Regions from separate parts of the Homo sapiens genome. Here region 1 is linked to region 2. The links are contacts of gene promoters, found by promoter capture Hi-C in blood cells and fetal thymus (Javierre and others, 2016). All regions are on one chromosome and are shown on one strand. Each heading gives the region's core, a stretch centred on a gene start or on the middle of the fragment in contact. The rest is flanking DNA. Distances are from core to core; before and after follow the strand shown. Region 1 overlaps ZNF175 (zinc finger protein 175). Region 2 holds the start of KLK13 (kallikrein related peptidase 13).

The links. Contacts are between HindIII fragments. The CHiCAGO score rates a contact against its expected background, and 5 or more counts as called.
Region 1: a fragment that was not itself captured here is called in contact with the fragment with the promoter of KLK13 in region 2 in 1 of 17 cell types (neutrophils); the score reaches 5.2 in neutrophils.

Annotation. Positions count from the first base shown.
Region 1 is chr19:51,572,184-51,575,465 of GRCh38, forward strand. It overlaps ZNF175 (zinc finger protein 175), which reads left to right. Exons shown (of 5, transcript NM_007147.4): 2 at 967-1,218. The coding sequence starts at 1,147. Among named protein-coding and RNA genes, the nearest start is that of ZNF175, 2.5 kb to the left of the region's middle. The HindIII fragment of the contact is 1,968 bases long and covers 669-2,636 here.
Region 2 is chr19:51,063,520-51,066,597 of GRCh38, forward strand. It overlaps KLK13 (kallikrein related peptidase 13), which reads right to left and starts at 1,573. Exons shown (of 5, transcript NM_015596.3): 1 at 1,497-1,573. The coding sequence starts at 1,548. The HindIII fragment of the contact is 5,030 bases long and covers 1-2,953 here.

The sequences.
Region 1 (3,282 bases), core at 403-2,902, 510 kb after region 2:
GAAACATTTCTTGGCTATCAGGGCAGTAAAGATTTCAGAAGCCTGTGCCATGTCAGTGACTGGGAGGCATTTTGGAACTTTCTGGCAGCCCTGTAGTACACTCATTGGGGATTTCTGAAAGTCAGTCCTGTCAGTGATTGCATTCAGGTGCGGTGGGGGCAACTTATTGTGGACAGGCAAGAAATGGTAACTGGAGGCCCTGATGCATGTCTGCAAATTTTCTGTGTCAAGATGGGGATTGGGACAGTGATTTTAAGTTTTAGCTCTAGTCAGAAGAGGCTGGTCTGTGTGTGGTGTATTATGGACGGGGACTGAAAAGTCCAGAAGCTCAGAATAGGTACACCAGACAGAGCCACCTCCCGGCCTGAGTTCTATGAAGGCAACAGAAAGAGGAAATGGTGTTTCTGGAAGCTGGCCACGTATGGGTACATGAGATAGTGGAGACAGTGTACAGTTTAGAACAAGGCAGATGTGGGGCTGATTCCCTGTTTTTCCATTTACAGACTGAGTAACCTTCAGGCAAATTATGTAACAGCACACAGCCTCATTATCCTCATCCTCAAAATGGGTATGATAATGCCCATGATATTTAGCTGACAATTAAATTGACAACTTTCTTTTTTTAATTCATATTTATCACGTGCCAGGCAGGCACTGAGGACTTGACAAGCTTCATCTTGGTTAAGTTTCCCAACATCTGTGATAAATACCTGCATTTTCATTTTGGAAACTACAACTAAAGTAATATTTTCATATTCTCACAGTGAAAATGTGGCAAAGCTGCAATGAATTCACCATTTAGTCCAGACTCAGTCTTTATTTTTAACCCTGACTAATAACTAGAGTTGGGCTTTCTGAACTTTGTCTACTCCAATGTCTGACACAGTGACTTCACCTCAGTGCCCTCAGGAAATATTTGTGGAGTGAATGTTGAATGAGTGACCATGTACTCATTGCTTTTCCAAGGCTTCTGCAGAACCCCCAGGTCAGGCCACATCATTGAGGCTGCAGGATCTCTCTTCATAGCCCAGTACGACTCTCCGCCGTGTCCCTGGTTGGAAAATCCAAACACCTATCCAGCTTCTGGCTCCTGGGAAAAGTGGAGTTGTCAGCAAGAGAGACCGAGAGTAGAAGCCCAGAGTGGAGATGCCTGCTGATGTGAATTTATCCCAGAAGCCTCAGGTCCTGGGTCCAGAGAAGCAGGATGGATCTTGCGAGGTAAACAGGGGCAGCCCTGGGGATAGTTCTCCAGAACGTGAGGGCAGACACAGGATGCAGCAGGTCTGGGCTCCCTGCTCCTGAGTCAGTCTTGAGCCTCCTGTCAAGCGAGGACCACAGAGGCTGATGTTTCCACATTCATAGGCTATCTGTGTTCTAGAGGAAACCATGAACTGGCTGATAAAAGAGGATAGTAGAGGGTTGGCCTTGGGTCAAGAAAGAAGAAACTGTAGTCCCTGGTCTGATCAGAAGCCCCAGTCATAGGATGGAAAAGCTGACTCTTTCCTGCTAAGCACTGGTTCTGCTCCTTCATCCACCACTGGGTCTTTGAAAAATTTCAAGTGGTCCCCCCCACCAAATTCCTTGCTTGGTCCATGGGGTTTGGCCCGTTTTTCCTCTGTTCTCATAAGGTGCGGCAAAATCTCCTTCCTTTGTAATTTAAATAGTCACAGGGAGGTAGAGTGAGAAGAGGCTTTTAAGGACCATGTGAAGAGGCTTTTAAACACTTTTTCCTGTTTAAAAAGGTGAACAAAAAATGCTGGAAAACAGTGTTTCCAGATTGCCCACAGATAGAAATAGTCAGGATTTGGTAACAAGAAATCAGAATTCTTGGTATAGTCAAGATTTCCTGAAATCCTAAATTATTCTGTGTATCTCTTGATGCTTTATTTACAAGTCTTTAAATAGTATGTGACTATAATAGTAAACAGTGTACCATTGTTCTGTGATGGGTTTATAACCAAATTTACAGAGATGTTCTGTTTTTTAAAAAAAGTATAATAAATATGTGTGTTATTATCCTGAACCAATATATTGTGAGATTATATATTTCAGTAACCTGTTAAAATCATCTCAACCTGCTAGAAACATTTGATAATAGAAAGTATTAAAAGAAGGGAACATTAACACAAAATAAATTGCACATATAAATCATTTTCAAAATTGTAAATACCCCAAATATTTAAAAGTCGTTCTTAAAAGAAAAATTGAAACATACAAGTTTAGGTGGGGCACAGTGGCTCATGCACTTTGGGAGGCCGAGGCGGGCGGATCACTTGAGCCCAGGAGTTGGAGACCAGCCTGGGCAACATGGCGAGACTCTACAAAAATACAAAAATTAGCCAGGTGTGGTGGCATGCACCTGTAGTCCCAGCTACTGAGTACGTTGACGTGGGAGGATCACCTGAGCTTGAGGCGGTCAAGGTTGCAGTGAGCTGCAATCATGACACTACACTCCAGCCTGGGCAATAGAGTGAGACCCTGTCTCAAAACAAAACAAGTTTAAAACATGAAATTGTCTAAGTCTTTGTGACAGCAGTGCAGATGCACAAACGTTTCTCTCATTTGCATTGATGTTGGTCAACTTGCGTGTTCAGAACATCTTCAAGTTTAGCGTTTTAGGACACATGTTCAATATAAGCTTTTTTCCTTTTTTAACAATGAAATTTTTTTTCTGCTTGACCTGATTTCCAGTTTATCATTTGAATCAATACTGCTGTCGCTAATTCAGATTTTCCATCAGTGTCTGAATTCATGTCAGAGTATATCCCAGTACCATGCACATTATCTTCTCTTTGTGGTGTGTATTTCCCTCTGCTCTGGACAGTACTATTTTTATTTTGTTATTTTTATCTTTTCTAATGTGATGGAAATAAAGATAGTATAGTGTTTTAATTTGCATTACTTTGTTTACAAACAGGCTTTTTTTTCATAATTTTATTGGTCAATTACTTGTCTTTAGTGAGTTACTTTTTCTTACCTTTTGATTTATATTTTGGTTTGGTTTAGCCTCCGGATTTTTAGAGAGGTTTTTTTTTTTTTTTTTTTTTTTTTGAGACGGAGTCTCGCTCTGAAGCGCAGGCTGGAGTGCAGTGGCGCAATCTCTGCTCACTGCAAGCTGCACCTCCCGGGTTAACGCCGTTCTCCTGCCTTAGCCTCCTGAATAGCTGGGAGTACAGGCGCCTGACAGCACTGCTGGCTAATTTTTTTGTATTTTTAGTAGAGATGAGGTTTCACCATGTTAGCCAAGATGGTCTTGATCTCCTGACCTCGTGATCCGCCTGC
Region 2 (3,078 bases), core at 323-2,822:
GGAGCCTTCTGTCTTTGAGTCCTAGGTTTCTCTGCCATGAAATTGGAGTAATTACAATGCACCTACCTCGCCAGGTTGTTGAGGACTCCACAAGGCGTAGCGTGTGGGTCTCCTAGCCTAGGGTGTGGCACTCAGGAGTGGCACGGGCATGAATCCAGGGAGTGTCGCCAGAGGAGAAAAGCCACCCCACCTTCAGGCCAAGGATGGTGCCAGGTGCCAGGCACCCACAGATCCCTCCTTTTTCAGGTCTTGGCTCAAGGGTCAAGCCCTTTGGGAAGGCCTCTGGTCGGGAAGCCGCCATTACATCTCTAGGCCCCTGGCTTGGCTCCTTGAAGTCTTCACCTCATGTCAAGATAATTATTAACTAATTATTTGGATAATTGTTTGAATAACATCTGCGTCTGTCCCCGCTAGACTCCAGGTGCTGAGAGCAGGGACTGTGTCTCTGCTTGTACAGCACCCAGCACAGTGGCCGGTGTTTAATAGCTGTTTGTTGAATGAATAAATGATTCATGAACGGGGTTTCCAGAGAACCTGCCTACAACGGCAGGGAAAGATGGGAAAGATCCATAAGGATCTTAAGGACTACCAATTTGGGGTGAGGTCACATAGGTTTGGGGTCAACCCAAGGATTAAAATAACAATCTAGAAGGTTCTGGAAGGGGCTGAGTATGAAGACAGAATACTAGAGGCCGGGCTCGGTGGCTCATGCCTGTAATCCTGGCACTTTGGGAGGCTGACGCGGGCTACTTGAAGTTAGAAGTTCGAGACCAGCCTAACCAACATGGCGAAACCCCGTCTCTGCTGAAAATACAAAAATTAGTTGGGCGTGGTGGCGGGCGCCTGTAATCCCAGCTACTCGGGAGGCTGAGGCAGGAGAATCGCTTCAACCCGGGAGGCGGAGGTTTCAGTAAGCCAAGATCGTGCCACTGCCTTCCAGCCTGGGAGACAGAGCAAGGTTCCATCTCAAAAAAAAAAAAAAAAAAAAAAAGGAATACTACTAATAAAGTAATAACGGCTAAGTGGCTAACTTTCAAGTCCCTTCTACCTGCGACATACTGAAGGCTCGACGCATTACCTCGTTTCAATATTCACAGTGACCTTCTCTGGTAAGCACTTATAGATTAAGCCCATTTTCCAGATGAAAACAATTTAGGCACAAAGCAGCTGCTAGGCTACTGGCTCAAAGCGGCAGCGTCAGGACGCGAACCCATGTCTTTCAGCTTTCCAGAGAGGACAGGAAGCCTTGAACGCGGGAGGGGCTGCTGCGAGGGTATTTTGGGAGGTGAAGGGTCTGGGGTCGGAGGGCCAACCTCAGCCGGGAAACCAGGTCACCCAGGGACAAGCAGGAAGAGCTCTGAGCTGTCCCCACTGGACCCGGCCCCGAGTGGGCGGGGGGCGGAGCTCGCGGCTCCCACGCCCCCTCCCCCTCCGGCCTGACCCCTCCTACCATTGTCCCGAATGGCCGCCGCGCCTCCACCCCCGCGCATTCTTACCTCCTGACAAGGCCAAGGTCAGGGAGGCGATCACTAGGGCCAGGGGCCACATGGCTCCGGGATCGGGAGGGGAGGGCAGGGCGGGCGGGGCCTGAGGAGAAGGTGAAGGGGGTGTTGAGGGCGTGCCCGGAACCTCCGCGTCTGAAACCTCTCTGCTCCTGAATGTCTCCTCGCCTCATTCACTCTTGACAGCCCTGACCCTGGAATCTGCCCCCCGCCTCCAATTCCATCCTTGGTGGGGGTGCAGTGGCGAGGTGGGAGGAACAGTGTGCAACCTCCTGGGGCTCCGGCGTGCAGCCCCTCACCCCAGGAAGCCGTCCCTCCTCCCCTGCCCTCTGGCGAGCTGGGTGGTCGGTGCACTCTCGCCCTTTTCCTCCAGAGTCTGCCTTCCATTCTACCCCTCTGGGTCTGTCCACACGCTTGGTATTAGCCCAAGTTCTTATCTGTCCGCGCCCTTCGCCTCTCTCCGTCTCTGCAGGTTTCTCTCTAGATCTGAGACTCTAGCTTCACTCTCCCTCTCCCTGACTCAGCTGCCCTTCTGCTTTCCCCATCCTTCCTATCCCCTCTTCTCTCCCCTCCCTGCCCTCCTCCGCTCCCCGCCCCCGCCCCAGGCAGACCCTACCTGAGTGAGGGGCCCACGAGGAGCGTCAGCCGCCAGCTGTCTAGAACTTCAGCCCCGAACCATGGCTTTTAACCCCTGAACTCCCTCCCCCAGCTCACTCAGCATTTCCTGGTCCCTGGCCTCCCCCTCTCCACCCCCAGTGGCTCAGCGGGATGTCTCCAGGCACCCCCGACCTGGGCTTGGCCCTCTGCTTGGGGCGGAGCTTCCAGGACGTGCTGGGACCTAGGTCTGACCCCGCCCAAGGCAGAGTTGAACCCACTGTGAACTTTCAGGCCTCAGGACCCAAAAAAGGGTAAGGGGAAAGCCCATTTCCTTCCCCCTACCCCGCTGAGTTCCATGCCCATCCCTAACTTCAACCCATTCTGCACCCAGTTTTCTAACCTCTTCTCCAACCCCATGCATAATTCTTAATAGGCAGTCAGCCCCCAGATGGCCGTGTTCTATCAGATTCCCACCTCCCTATCCATCCCTAACCATACCAAGTACTCCAGCCTGTTCCTCAACCCCAGTCCCATCTCCAACCTCATCTCAGGTTTAGCTCTCAACACATCCAGGTTCCAATTCCCAGTCTCATCTCAACCCTTTTTCTTTTGAAAGACACAAGGACACCCACAATTATCCCATCATCCTGCCTCCCTGCTCCCGCCAACCACCGGACACAAGAAGGAAATCATCAGCTGGGTGGATAGAAAATCAGCTCCCTCGGACTTGGATGGGGGCAGAGATGCGACCTGAGAAAGCAACATTTTCCAGAAATGGCCTTTTAGGAGCAGGGCCAGAGGGGGTGAGGGAGTCCACGGGGACCTAGGTGGAGAGGAAAAAGCAGGAGCCGGAAAGCTTTGAAGACGTGGATTGGGGGTGGGGGAGAGGAAGGAGGAAGGGGTGGTGTTTTGAGAATGAGTAGGTGTCTCCAGGAACTATGACTGGGTGGAGCCCTGAGTTAATCCTAGGGGGTGGAGG